Linked DNA regions of Homo sapiens: region 2 is linked to region 1. The links are contacts of gene promoters, found by promoter capture Hi-C in blood cells and fetal thymus (Javierre and others, 2016). All regions are on one chromosome and are shown on one strand. The core of a region is centred on a gene start or on the middle of the fragment in contact, and the rest is flanking DNA. Distances in the headings are between cores, read along the strand shown. Region 1 holds the start of C1orf87 (chromosome 1 open reading frame 87). Region 2 overlaps LOC101926964 (a long non-coding RNA gene).

The links. Contacts are between HindIII fragments. The CHiCAGO score rates a contact against its expected background, and 5 or more counts as called.
Region 2: a fragment that was not itself captured here is called in contact with the fragment with the promoter of C1orf87 in region 1 in 4 of 17 cell types (M2 macrophages, M1 macrophages, M0 macrophages and 1 more); the score reaches 8.6 in M2 macrophages.

What each region holds. Positions count from the first base shown.
Region 1 is chr1:60,069,617-60,077,386 of GRCh38, forward strand. It overlaps C1orf87 (chromosome 1 open reading frame 87), which reads right to left and starts at 4,154. Exons shown (of 12, transcript NM_152377.3): 1 at 4,074-4,154; 2 at 2,921-3,054. The coding sequence starts at 3,027. The HindIII fragment of the contact is 5,384 bases long and covers 2,471-7,770 here.
Region 2 is chr1:60,761,406-60,769,175 of GRCh38, forward strand. All of the region lies in intron 1 of LOC101926964 (a long non-coding RNA gene), which reads right to left. Among named protein-coding and RNA genes, the nearest start is that of LINC01748, 140 kb to the left of the region's middle. The HindIII fragment of the contact is 955 bases long and covers 3,900-4,854 here.

The DNA of each region.
Region 1 (7,770 bases), core at 2,904-5,403:
TAACTTAAGGAAAGAGGGAAGGAGAGCTCCATTCCAGTCTTAGATCTTAATAACAAACCTGGAACTTCAGGGGCTTGCTTTAAGACCACTGAGGCCTTAGTTATCTCACCTCATCTGTAAAATGGGAGTCTGGTTGTTATGGGTTGAACTGTGGCCCTGCCAAGATTCCTGTGGTGATATTCTAACCCCCATACCTCAGTATATGACCTTATTTGGAAATAGGGTTATTACAGATGTAATGAGCTGAGATTAGGTCATATTGGATTAGGGTGGGCCCCTAATGTAATTGACTGATGTCTTTATAAAAAGGGGCAATTTGGACACAGATGCAGATGCAGGGAGAAAGCCATGTGAAGCTTGGAGATATGCTGCCACAAGCCAAGGAACTGCGAGAACAAGGGGAGGCCTAGAACACATAGGTCTTTCCCTGGCACCTTCATAGGGATCACAGCTCTATGGACAATTTGACTTCAGACCTCTGGCCTCTAGAACTTGAGACCATGAACTTCTGTTGTTCTAAGCCACCCAGTTTGTGGTACACTATTACAGCAGCCCTAGCAAGCTAATATAGTGGGCTGCATCTAAAAGGCTACCTTCAAGTCTGTCATACCATCCCATCATCAACACATGTCTTGCAGGAAATCTGAGCTAAATGTGGTTATACAGAAGATTTCTCTTTTTCTATCCATTATTGATCCATGATTTTCTTTTAATTCAAATTTTCATTTTGGAGAAGCCTTTATTTTTTGATGTTTACTTATGCTTCTTAAGTGGATTTTTATTAATGGATTCAACTTATTCAATCCAAAGGAAACAGCATTTTGAGGCCCTGGTTTATGAGTATAAACACTTTTGGGAAGACAGATTCTGCAGCATGAATGACATGATAGTGGCGGCACTTTCCTTACCTGAGCAACAAGAAGCATTTAAGAATTATTTATTTTTAAACATAGAAGAATATTTTAGCAATGCACATCAATTATCCTATGTCATCCCAGCAACAGTAACATGAAGTCTATAGGAAACACAACAAACAAGCAAAATATCCATCTTACTACCTAAAAAAATACCAATTGTTGTACTATAATAGGAGAGATAGAACTGCATATTTTATTTTACAATTAATTTAGCTGATTTAATGTACTCTTTTATTTCTTGGTTCCTGAAGGTTAGAAAACAAAATGGGGAAAGGCACCTTCCTATAAGATAAAGCTAACTTTTCACTATTTTAAAAATTAAATACTACTCCTTGCTTTCTGTTTAAAAACATATTAAGCTCCCTACCCTTGGAAAAAGCAAGGAGTTTGGGAGAGAATAAGGCTAAACAAATAACCTAAATAAGGAATGGAATAGTAATAATATAGTTTTCCAGGTAGGAGATCTGAGCCAGGTGTCCAAACTAATTCTATTTACTTTTCTTGACAGTGACAGGGATTTGACATATCTCAAAATAATCGCTTACCATATCACAGTGTCTTAGTTTCCTCATCTACAAAACAGACATAAACTGTGTCCTAGGCATAGAATATAAAAGGGACATCAAACATTTCAGAGAAAGAGGTTCGATTTTTTGTTACATTTTTTATATCTATAGAAAGACTTCTATAATAATAGCAGGATTATTTACTAAGCATGTTATTTATAATAGACACTGGAAAGGTGCTTTGCATACTTTTTCTCATTTAATCCTCACAATAACCCTATTACTAGATAGGTGTTGTTTTATCCCCACTTCATATATGTAGAATCTAAGGCCAAAGATGTTAATTCATTTTCCCAATGTCAAAAAGGCAAGAAAGAATCAGACCTAAGATTCAATTTCACACCTCTCAGCACTGTAGGGATCCCAAATGTATGAATCACGTGCTGCAAACCTCAGTTCCTGTGCAGTGGCAGACATTACTAACTGATTATAGCAGTCACTTTGGAATCCCTCTAGACCTTACAATACTGATAGTAGGGAAGTAGAACTAATGTGCCTTTCTAAAGCCTTATTAAAGCCTGTACTTCATAACAGCAGTCTTGGTGACCTACATTCAGAGATTTTGATTCAGCAGACCTTGAGCTGGTTCCTGAATCTGTATTTTTGAGGTCTCTCCCAGTGATTCTGATGACAGCTAGGTTTAGCAAAAATTTCTTCTTGCACCTATGTTCAACAATACCATATCTTTGTATATTTGTTCAGTCTATGAGTTTCTGAAATAGAAGATAGAGCTAAGGAAATAATCTTAGGAAGGAAAAGTAATTTTTGACTAGCTATTACTTATGGAACGCCTACTATATGAAAGACAGATCTAGTACCTTCCCTCCTTTTTTGAGCCACTGAAACTCTGTAAGAAAGAGCTAGTCATACTGTTCTGTGCTGAAACATCTGGTGAATATTAGAAATACAGGAGTGTCATCTCTTAAATGTGACTCTGATGGGTTTGGAATAGAAGAAAGAGATCTTAGCCATGATCTGAGAAGCCCAAGCTTAGAGGAGTATCAAATACAAACAGGAGTAAGTGAAAACCTTACAATTTATGATTCTGTATTAATCCTACTCCTGTAATTCACAACAAATTGACTATTAAACCTCCCCCACTCTCCCCAAAATTAGTACATGTGGTAGATTACAAGCCCGATGAGAAAAGGCAGCAGTGCTCCATTAATATTTATAAATGTCGCAATGCTCATATTTCCCATCTATTTGGAAAATCAGCCCAAGTAATTAAGGAGTATGGGGAATTATAAAGATGAAAAATATCAGGAAAACAGTGCACATGGAAGTTATCAACACGATTTTACCTCTACTGTTGCATCTTAATGACTTCGTTTTCCATGGATGGCATTTTTTAAGTTTAAATTTCTGGGTGAAAACAAAACAATAAAACTTCATTATCATCCAAGCAACATAGATATTTTTCAAATATGGACTTACATCTTTGGCTTCTCCACGAGGTATTGAAAGTGTTTACTTCCAATGATTTTCACCATGATCTCAGGCATTGCATCTGATCCACGGGGAGTCTTCCAGGCTGAAGACATGATTCCTTTCAAAATCCCTTCAGATCCCTAGGGGTGAAAATAAGTAAATTGTTCCTCTTGATTTTCCATTAGGGAACTGCATCATCCTTGCCAATAACAACAAGCAATAATAATAGCAGGACAAAGTGTTTCACCTATATTACCTCACTTAACACTCCTAACAAAGGCATGAGAAAGATATTTTTAACTACTATTATCATTTTTGTTTTACTGTTGAGGAAACAAGCAAAATGTAGCTATATGACTTACTCACATCACATCACATCACCAGTAATTAGCCGACTTGGGAATCTCACCTAAGAGGTCTGTACAGCAGATCTACTGAATCATTAGGTGACTCTACCTTCCTGTACTACAAGACATAGGATGGAATTCCAGTGAGGTCAGAGCAGAAACAAGGGCATTAGTGGGACATATGAAGAATCCATATTCAGTTCTGATGTTTAGTTTCCCCATTTATGAGATCAGGGTAATTCTAGGTCTGTTCTCAGGGACTTGAGGGTGAATCCAAGGAGATAATGCATCTGAAGGGAGACTGTACACAAGACAGACAGACTTTTGTTGTTATCACTGATCTCTTTCTACAACAATACAATGAATCTGAAATTGAACTCCTGCACAAGGTGTTTAAACAGAGTGATGCCAAGGGAAAATCAGAAGTTCAGTAAATCTGGCCACAGCTGAACACTCCCTTTTAGAACCACCCAGAGGCTGAAAGGCCTTTAGAAATCATTCTACTCCAAAGGCTCCTTCACAGATTGGAAAACTAAGGCCCAGAGAGGGTGTGTTATTTGACAAGGGTCACAGAGGAATGAAGGACGGGACTGTTTCCAGTACTTGGGTCTGATGTCTAGGCCAGGGTTCTTCCCAAAAGTCCAATACTAAAGACCTGTGCTAGGGCAGCCCCTCATCCCGGGGACCTGCAGCCTCTTTGCACCTGTCTGGAATCTTCCAGACCCGGAACTCGTGATCCTCAAATCCCCTCCCTGCCCAGCAGCTGCGTGTCGGCCCTGATTGCCCGGAGAGAACAGAGTCGGGGGGCTTACCGCTAGGGCAGCGTCCCCACCCTGGCAGCTCAGAGGTGCGCGGTCCGTGCTTCTCCCCAGGAAGCTGACACTCTCAGACCCGGGGACGGGACGGGGCGTGGGGACCGAGCCCAGGAATCCGGCCAATCACAGGGCCCGCATCGCGGGCGGCGCCTGTTCCGCCCTGGTCGCTAAGGACGCTGAAGGCTGTTTCTGGGCGGGGACCAGGTTTTTCTCCACTGCCTAGGCAATGGACCCAGGCTCTGGCTGCCAACGGGTGAAGAGCCTAGGTGTTTTTGATCTGTGCCTTCTCTGTTCCTCAGAGATATGCGGGCGTCCTTCTAGAAGCCCATCTCGCTCACCTGTGTGGTCACCCTTGTCCCGCCCTTCCTCCGAAGGCTTCATTTCCCTTTGTGAGTTTGCACATAGTTGAGATTCCAACACAGTAGGTTCAAATCCAGACGTCTCCACTGTATGGCTTGAGTAAATCCCTTCTTTTCCCTGAGATTGTTTCCTCATCTGTGAAACGGGGCAAAATAATAACACTGTCCTAACTGCGATTTGGTGACTAAATTAAATAAGAATATCGGCCGGGCTCAGTGGTTCACCCCTGTAATCCCAGCACTTTGTTAGGCCGAGGTGGGCAGATCACGAGGTCAGGAGATTGAGACCATCCTGGCTAACATGGTGAAACCCCGTCTCTACTAAAAATACAAAAAATTAGCCGGTCGTGGTGGTGCGCGCCTGTAATCCCAGCTACTCAGGAGGCTGAGGCAGGAGAATTGCTTGAACTTGGGAGGTGGACCTTGCAGTGAGCCAGGATGGTACTACTGCACTCCAGCCTGGGCAACAGAGCGAGACTCCATATCAAACAAACAAAGAAACAAAAAAACCAGAATATTATAGATTGATAATAATAACGTTGAGTACTGTCTCTATGCCAGATCCCTATGACAAGCTGGATAACTCTCACCTCACAAGTTAATAGTTATAAACAAAATAGTTTTACTTTATTTTAAAGAGAAAAGAAACAAGTTGGGGTATTGATAAACTACTCCAAATCCTGCAAAAGCAAGTACAGAGCTAAGATTAGAATATAGATCTGCATATCCTACATTTCCAGACAGTTGTTATTATGCTAAAAGAAACTTCAGCTGATGCAGGCAAAGACACTTTAGATTGATTCCCAAACGGTATTGTTATTTGCATCAACATAGGCAGCAGCAGCTCCAGCATCTGTTCCCCTGTCTCCTAACCTCTAGCTGTACTGTGCTTTACAGGTGAATATATCACCCACTGGCACATGCAGCCAGAGGTGGACAGCACACTCAGCTCCCCTCCAGGGGCTCACTCTCTAGAGGGTGAGACACACAGCCACATTCTATGATATAGAAAGTGTTAAGGGAGCAGAGAAGCGGGGACAGCTCCCTTCTCACTCCTCCCTCCTAGCCTTCACGTTGCTTCCAGATCAGTCTTCCCAAGGCCCAACTCTGACAAGCCCCCTCCTCTACTCAAATGTCTGAAAGATCTCATCAGCCACAGCAGGTGTCTGTGGTTTCAAGACCTTCCACTATCTGACTTCAAGCTAGATCTCTAGCTTGATCTCCCACTACTTCTCCTAGGCTTGTTATGCTGCATCCAACCCAGTCTACTCACTGGCTTGAATCTCCCTTTCATATCTCTGCCTCAGTGCCTTTGTTCACTTTGTTTCCTCTGCCTATAATGCCCTTCCATTTCTCACTGTGTCAGCCTGCCTATCCATTCTTTAAGTTGGATCTCAAATGATATGTGAACTTGGGAATCAGACACTTTGAGTTCAAATCCTTGCCCTGCTAGTTCAGTGTAATCTTGGGCAAATCACTTAACATCTTTGTGCTTTAGTTTCCTCTTCTATACAATGAGGATGACTTTTTGTGAAGTTTAAGCGAGTTATATAAGAAAGGAACTTAGAAGAATGCCTGACACATAACGAACAATATAAATGTTTGCTCTTATTTTGGAAGAAGCCAAACTGGATTCCAGAGCTGAAAGTGGCTTCTTCATCTTATCTATAACTTGTGGTTTCTCTCTTAGGAAATATGTGTGTCTTTGTCTGAGAGTGTGGTATTTATTTGCTTTGTTTGTCCGGGCTTCTCGTGCTATGCTGTAGAGGGCTGAATAATGCCCCTCCCTCAAGATGTCCACCTTTTAATCCCCAGAACTTGTGAATATTACCTTCCATGGCAAAAAGAACTTTACGGATGTGATTAGGTGAAGGAACTTGAGAGGAGAAGATTATCTAAATTTTTCAGATGAGCCCTAAATGTAATCACGAGTGTCTTTATAGGAGGGAGGTGAGAGAGATTTGATGACAGAAGAGGAAGTAAATGTGACAATGGAGGCAAGAGGGTACAGGGATTTGGGGAAGGGATCATGAGCCAATGAATGCAGACGGCCTCTGGAAGCTAGAAAAGGCAAGGAAACTGATTCTACTCAAGACCCCCAGAAGGAATCTATTCTGCTGACCCCTTGGCTTTAGCCCAGTGAGACTGATTTTGGATTTCTAACCTTCAAAAATGTAAGACAATACATTTGTGTGTGGTAATTTATTATATTATCCATGGGAAAATTTAACGTCATGCTATTGAAGGACTCTTCTTTTCTTTTTCTTCTCTGTGTTTGTTAAATATCCAGAACAGTGTCTAGATTATAGTGTGCTCTACAAAATTTTTTGACCAAATGAATGAAGGAGAATAGAACCAAAATTAAGTATTAAAATTTCTCTCTAAAAAATACTATAATGAAAATGGTACAGGTGGGAGTTTTGTCTACCTAAAACGCTTGCCTATTCTTTCTTTCTGTGAAATGAATGCTTTCTTTGGGAATCTCTTTTCCTATTTCAAGGAGTCCTTGTGGGCATTTTCAATCAAAGTGCTGCTTGATTATACTCTATGTCTTAAGAAGGCCAGAGTTCTTATCAATGACCAATGCACCTGACCCTTGAACAATACAGAGGTTAGGGGTGATGACTCCTCATGCAGCTGAAAATTTGCGTGTAACTTTAGACTCCCCCAAAACTTAACTGCTTATAGTCTGCTGTTGACTGGAATCCTTACTGATAACATCATAAATTAACACATATTTTGTATGTTATATGTATTATATAATGTATTCTTATAATAAAGTAAGCTAGAGAAAAGAAAATCTTATTAAGAAAATCATAAGGAAGAGAAAATGTATTTACTAAGTGAAAGTTATCATCATAAAGGTCTTTATCCTCAACATCTTCACATGGAGTACGCTGAAGAGGAGGAGGAAGAGGAGGTATTGATCTTGCTGTCTTGGAGGTAGTAGAGCTGGAAGAAAATCTGCCTATAAGTGCACCTGCACAGTTAAAACCTGTGTTGTTCAAGGATCATTTGTACACACATGTAGGAGGAAAAAAGTTTATATCTGTTAAGATTACTAGACTGTGAGGATAAGGTGTTGATATCTGTATCAACACATACTGCAATTTTTCAGAGAGGAGGAAGAACTCAGCCAACAGAGAAAAGCAGAGCTGAAAATGGAGCCAGTGTGGGGAAGGAGAGGAAAGCAAAAAGCCTGGATCCAGCTATGCCTGAAATTAGAGATTCCAGAACTCTCAAACACACGAGTAATAAACATCCCTTTTGTTTATAATATTTTGAGATGACTGTCATTAATCTTTACCCAAAGAGACCTAACATAGAGACTCTTA
Region 2 (7,770 bases), core at 3,127-5,626, 690 kb after region 1:
TCCTTGGCCTCTCTGAGTCAAAGTACTTCACCTATCAAATAGAACTAACACTTAGCTCACAGAGTTGCTACCATCTTTGTGGAGTTTTTTTTTTTAACATGACCTTTTAGCTAATAGGCCATATTAGCTAAAATTATAGTCCCACCTTCAAACACTCCCTATCTCTCATCCTTACTTTTACTTTTCTTCTTTGCATTTACCACTGTCTGACACTCCATATATTTCTATATCTGTATCTCTCTTCCCATTTGTGTGTTGCCACCACTATAATGGAAACTCCAAAAGAGCAAGGATTCTTGACTTTTCATGTATTTCTAATCCTTAGCACATATGGGGACTTAGTAAGTATTTGTTGAATGAGTAAGTATTTGTTGAATGAGTAAGTATTTGTTGAATGAGTTAGTGAATGGATGGATAGATGGATGGATGGATGGATGGATGGATGGATGGATGGATGGGCAAGTGAAACATTAAAAGGTACTCATTAAATGTTAGCTGAATGAAGCAAAGGGCCATAGTCTAGCTCCCATAGCTGGCACAATGATAGTAGTACCAAATAAAGTTACTAACAACAAGCTAATGGTTTCCCCATGGGGAAGACTAAGGTTTGACTGAGACTTGAATGCAAAGTGCTTTTTTATTAACAGCATAAATTATTCTGGTGAGTATCTTCTCCTTAGCATCCTAAATTTTTTACAAGTATCCAGCTCTCTGCCAGGCAGCCCTACTTAATAACAACTTCTGACCCTTGAAGAGCAGTTTCCTTTGCTCAAAGCACTTTCAGATATATATTCTATTAAAACTCCATAATCTTTGCAGGAAAAGGCTCTTCCCACCACTTCTATCTTGTGTGTTAGTAAGAGACAAAGTTTACAGTAGAGCATGCCTCAAAGAGAAATGAGGTCACCAAACTAGAGAAACTGTGCAATAGCAGGTTGGGAGTAAAGCCAAGAATAATAATAATGCCTGTTACTATTAATAAGACCTAACTTTTAACCCTCAGGCTGACACAGCCTGAGATTCAGCATGGGTTGCACAGAGACAGTGCAGTGGGAGAGGAATGGGACATTTCTAGTCATATACACTGACTAACCCAAGACTGGCAGTCAGTGAAAGTGATGGGTAAATGGTCCTTGCGACCTAATAGGAGTTGAACAAGTGATTCTCTAGTGAGTAGATGAATGGATGAACGAATAAAATATTTATTTGTTTCCATTCATAAATACTTTTGAAGCACCTCTGTTGCATCAGGTCCTGTGGTAGATGCGGGGTTACAAAGATGATCAAGACATGACAGAGGGGCTTGGGCTACACCTATAAGACTTTTTTAGACTTTGAATCTGTCTTCAAAAAAACTAAAGCCCAATATGCAAAACAGTTCAAAACTTACCTGCTCCAAATCACAGCAGGCTGTGTGTGGTGGGAAGAGGGAGGAAAGGGCCTTCACTCTGGTGGGGTGTCTGAGGAAGCCCTGTGGCTCCCCGGAGCATTACTCAAAACATTGCCTTAGATGAACATTCAGGTGCTTCTGCAACAGAGATGCCAGGATTCTGTGGATGATGCATTAAGCCCTTGTAAGAGAGAAGGTTCTGAGGTTTAGAAGACAAGAAGGAAGGGTTCAGCACTCAGTATCTACAGAGGATGTTGCTAGAGGGTTCCTTGGAGACCAAGGGTTGGTGAAGGCTGAGGCTTTGAGGCAGAAAACTGTCATGGACATTAGTCATTTTTGTTGCTGCCCAGTATGAGTCTTGTTGTAGGATAAAATTGCTTCTCCTTAAAGAGGCAGCAATGCTAGATACTTGCTTTCCTGGTTTCATTTGCATCTAAGGCACAGGACTGAATCAAGATCTTAGGGACACAAGGAAACATGTCTCTCCTTGCGTTGCCTCTCTGCTCTCTTCTCCCTTCCCCTCTCTTACCCTCCCCTTCCGTCTCCTCCCTTCTCCTCTCCTATCCTCCCTTTCTCCCCACCTCAATGTCTGAGGTTGCAATGTCAGACCCTGACACAGTCAAGCAATGCTGGGGGATCAGGGAGCACTTTGCTCATCAGATCATTCCTCTCCAGCCCTCACCTCACACCTGCTCTGCAGCTTTCCAACCGTTCTGTGAGCTGCCCGATACCATCTAATAAATTTCTTCTCTCCTTTATCAGCCTGAGCCAGTCTCTGCTGCTTACAGACCAAAGCCATAAGAGGCCCAGGACACAAATGGGAAGACTGGGAGATAGGCATGCTTATTCTTCCTTAGAAGCTCTCCTGAAATCCAAGCTGAAAACTGGCTCCAACGGGGCTGCAAAAAAAAAAAAAAAAAAAAGCACTGAAAAGTTTCCAGTAGCGTCACCAGGGAAGAGTCCCAGGTTTTCTCTTTCAATACACAGCTTTAAAAAATGAAAAGATTTCCTATCCTCAAGCCTCTGTATTTATATTTTGGAAACTGTCAGCAAAGACAGAGGTTTCTTCCTGACCAGAACTTTGGTCAATCTAAGAGTCAGATGTTCTGAGGAGCCATTTTTCATGTGGGGAACTCCTTAAAGAGAAATCCAGGTGGCTGTCAGCCTAATAGCCAAGTTGTTGACAAAGCACAAGAGTTTCTGATATTTCCTGGACACCAATCCATATTGCTTTAACAGAATTTTGTTGCATTGAAGCTGATATTCCCCCCAAAATCATTAATCCAGTCTCAGCTACTTCTGTTGGTTGGAATTGACTTGGCAGCTGTACTTAGAGAGGTTCAGAGAAAGGAAAATATTCTCCTGTGTTAATTAAACAATGTTGACTAGAAATAAAGACCTAGTTAGGGAATCAGGAGTTAGGAAACGGGAGTTCTTTTCCTAGAGTTGCCAGTTTCCATTTTGTGACTTTGATGTTCCCTCTCTATGAAATGGGGAAAATATGCTTTATGAGATTCTCGTGGAGATATAACCATATATATATATTCTCGTGAGGACTGAATAATATCCACCCATAAAGTTTCACTGCTGTTATTGTTATTTCTTTCTCAACATTCTTAATATAAAGTCAGAAGCAAGGATGGCCAGAGATGCTGGGAAAGGCATATATACGGACGGCAAAGAAGAGAAGCTGCTATGATGAGAAGAAAGAGACTTGGAGTCAGAAGGTTGTGCTTCCCACCAGCTGTGTGATTGTGGACAATCTATTTCAGCTTCCTGAAACTCCACTTTCTTTGCTATAGCATAGAGATTAAATTGTGAGGATTAAATGCAATAACTATAAAAGTCTTGAGTACAATGCTTAGTTCATAGTACATGCTCAATGTTAATTTCCTTCCATTGTTCCCTGCTTATCAAAGAAGAGAGAGGCTTACGTACAGAGAAGTAAACCAAGAGTTGGCAAATACAGCCAGCAAGCTAAATGCGCCCACCATCTGTTCGTATAAGCAAAGTTTTTTTGTTTTTTGTTTTGTTTTGTTTTGTTTTGTTTTTGAGATGGAGTCTTGCTCTGTCACCCAGGCTGGAGTGCAGTGGCACAATCTCAGCTCACTGCTGCAACCTCCGCCTCCCGGGTTCAAGTGATTCTCCTACCTCAGCCTCCCGAGTAGCTGGGACTACAGGCGCCCACTACCATACCCAGTTAATTTTTGTATTTTAATAGAGACAGGGTTTCACCATATCGGCTAGGCTGGTCTCGAACTCCTGACCCTGTGATCCGCCCGCCTCAGCTTCCTAAAGTGCTGGGATTACAGGTATGAGCCACTGCACCTGGTCAGCAAAGTTTTATTGAACACAGACGTGCTCATTTGTTTACTATTTTCTATGACCACTTTAGTTGTTACAGAGATCACATAGTCTGCAAAGCCTAAAATATTTACTACCGGGTTTTTTATAGAAAAAGTTTTCCGACCCCTGACCTAAGCTACTCAAGTCCAATCTACACACTTAAAGCTTTCAAAACATAAAATTAAGACAATTTAATAATTTGCCTAAGGTCACAAGGGTACTTGGCAAGTGAATGGCAAGCTAATGAATGCCCCCTACTGGGCAGTAGAGGCGATGTTATGCGACATGGTTAACAGCTCAGACTAAACATCGTTCAAATCCAGGCTCTGCCACTTACTAGCTATGCAACCTTAGAGGAGTTGCAAACTTACCTCACACTGTGACTGTAGTGTTAATAATTTGTCATAATGACTCTTGAAAAATGACATCCTTTATTGTACAATGTCTTCTTTTTATCACTATAATAAATTTTTTTTTACCTAAAAACGTATAAATAAACAAGATATAAGAAGTGAAATTTTGACATTGGTGTCACAGGCAAAGACATAACCCTTATTTACTCAACACAACAGTTTATCTCGGAGATTACCAGATGAAACAAATCTGAATTGCACACCACTTGTGGATGAGCTCAGTACAGCTTGCTTTTTGTACAAATGTCAAGAAATTATTCAGTCTGTAGCTAGAGCTGTGGGGTTCAGAGCAGTGTATATCATATATATACCCCTCTCTTTCCAGATTTTCTTTTATTAGTTTTGATACATTTCAGAGAGAAACATCTCTGCCTTCAGATCCCCAGGGCCCTTCTTTCACAAAGCCCTGCTAAAAAGAAATAATCTGACCTTAGTGTTAACATATCACCATGAAGCAAAATCATTCATTGAATATTAACAATAACTCAGTTTTTCTGTGGAATAGTTGTAGAGGCTTTCTGAGTTTTAAGCCTTTTTAATCATTGTATACAATTTCAAGAGGATTTTACTTTTTTCTTGTAGAAAAAAAGACCACAAAAATGAGAAAAATAGAGGCTATTTATTCAAGGCTTACTATAGCAAAGGAATCAGCCATCGTCACTTCCATTTGGCAGAGACTCAAAGTCAGGCAGAAGAAGCAAGGAAAGCTTTATAGTTAAAAAAAAAAAAGAGAGAGAGAGAGAGAAAAGGGGGAGTGTTCAGGTATGCTCTAATTAGAAGTTGTTGGCATGGGGAAGCTGGAGACAGGCTATAAAAATGGGATATATTATGTGATTTTTTTTTTTAGGGAGTGATATGGTTTGGCTGTGTCCCCACCCAAATCTCATCTTGAATTGTAGCTCTCATAATTCTCATGTGTTGTGGGAGGGACCCAGTGGGAGGTAACTGAATCATGGGGGCAGGTCTTTTCTGTGCTGTTCTCATGATAGTGAATAAGTCTCACGAGATCTGATGGTTTTATAAAGAGGAGTTCCCCTACAGAAGTTCTTTCTTGCCTGCTGCCATGTAAGATGTGCCTTTCACCTTTCTCCTTCCACCATGATTGTGAGGCCTCCCCAGCCACGTGGAACTGTGAGTCCATTAAACCTCTTTTTTTTTAATATAAATTACCCAGTCTTAGGTATGTCTTTATCAGCAGCATGAAAACAGACTAATACAGGGAGCATATTTGGTTTTCTCTGGTTGGTCCGGAATTAGAAGTGAAAGCCACAAATAGGAAAGCTGGCAGTCATTGACGAAGTTCTGACTGTTTGGGGTCAATTGATGTGAAGGTCATGATTTGCTTTCCAGGATCAATAGCCAGAAAGGTTGTTGGTCAATGTTCTACTGCCATATATGATCTGGTCACTGTCTAGACAACGTCCCTCAGTCCCCCCTTTCAGTCATTCTCTCACTTGCAACAGGTTGGTCAATTCAAGGAAGACCAGAAATGCAGATCTTCACTGATGGAAGGTTGTCTGCTTGTCTCCATAGTCAACCGTATCACAAGATCTTCTTGATCTTTTTACTGCTGTATCATCATGACAATCATTTGATGAGAGAGCTGCTACACAAAAGCATTTAAGACTCTGGATAGAATATAATGAACAAGCTTACAACAACTTTGACCAAAACAAAGACAAGTAATAGTCCCACTAAGACAGCTAGACCCAGGAACCCCAATTGCCTAACTCAGGTAAACAGAATGAATCCCAGAGCCCAAGAGGATGAATCTTAGAACATCAAGTCACTTTTTCTTTAAGGTGAAGTGTAGCCTACTTGACTATGCCTGCTTCACAGATCTAAGTAAATAAGAATTATTAACAATGATACAAACACCACATTGACTAGCCAACAAGAAATTTAGAGTAATGACATTGTCCATCATTACTCCTGCCAACAAGTTGACATTGATCTGTACTCTATCTAAGGCAGAAGGAGTACATTAATTAATAACTTCTGCTGAGTTAATTCTAAGTTTCTTTCAATATTTTCTACTTGTTTGAGTCTCACCACTGGGATCATTCCTTTCATTGTTCCCATAAACAATGAGTAAGTAATTCCCCCAAATGGAGGACTTACGATGGAGCTATCAACTAAGTTAGAATTTCCAGCCTTGGTGATCTATAGAATTAGAATCTCTGTATACTGACAGGTCTTAGAATATTATTTCTAAAGTGCAGAAGAAAAGATGACCGGGAAGTCCTAGAAGTATATGATAGTGGCACATGGACACTTAGGAAAAAATTTAGTTGTTTATGGCATGAGGTCAGAATCAATGCTTTATTTTAGCTGTGTCACACATTTTTATCTTTACTAGTCTCTTCCAAGTGGCAAGAATTTGGCCAATTACCTTAAGAAAGTTGCTGAATTCAAATTTATATTACCTAAGTTCCAATCAATAGATTGTAACAATGTACTCCTTTTCTGGGGGAAAGAAGGACACTGGCAAAGTTATAGGTTGGTTCATTTTAGTACATTTGTCCTTGTAGGTGCAAATGGAAATGCAATCAGTAGTTCCTCATGGCTTCATTTGGTGAGACTGAAATTGCCCTAAGATATCATGGGGGTCCATTGATTAATGGCATATCCAAAAGTTGGTAAAGTTGAAGGCAGGGCTATGGTTTGGAATAATCAAAGAATGAGTTTGAATGAGAATGTTCCAACCTAATAGTTATCATAAAGATGAATGAAAATAAAAAAGAAGCCATTATGGGTGGACAACAATCAGGGATCTATAGAACATGAGAAGAAAAGTGTTTATAAGCAAGCAGATGAAAAACAAAACAGGAATTATACAGGGGTCTTGGTCTGGAGGGGAAGCTGTCCATTATCTGAGGTCATAAGATTGTTCTCATGGTCTCAGGTCAGAAGACTACTTCCAAAGATCACCTGCTTCTAGAGAATCTCTGAAAATCTTGTTTGAGGGTCCATATTAACATATAATGGCCTTCCAATTGTATGGAATTCTGTATTGTTTTTTTTCATTGTAAAACAGAAATCCAAGGATTAATTTCCAGGAGTTCCACTCCTGCATTTGTTGTTAAAGTACCTTCCAATGAGGTTTGAGTGCAGTTTTTCTATTATGTCTCTTCCGGCAGATGAAATCTCCTCATTGCAAGTCATGAAAACTTTGCTTAGTTAGATGTGTGAGAGAATGGCCTTAAAATATTGGTGGTAGAAATGGACACAGTACTTGAGTCCCTTGCAGTATTTTGCCATGTCTTCATGTGACAGGGCAGAATCTAGTATTAAAGATGAAATCTATTAATTCATGATGCTTCTAGTTACCAGTTAATAAGGGAATAACTGATTGTTTGCAAGGGAGTGGATCATACGGCCATAATGGCTAGTAGAAATACCTTTGGTCAAGAAAGAAAAAGGATTATTAAAAGGTTTTATAAGTATGCTACTTTTAATTTAAGGGTGCCATTGGTTCTTTCTACCTTTCCAAAAGATTTGGATGGAAAAAAGCAGTGTAGTTTTCAGCTTTGATAATGCCTTACAGTGTTCTTTTATAATGGTTCTTGTAAAGTGTGCGTCTCAGTTACTTAATATATAAAAATTGGAATACCCCAGATT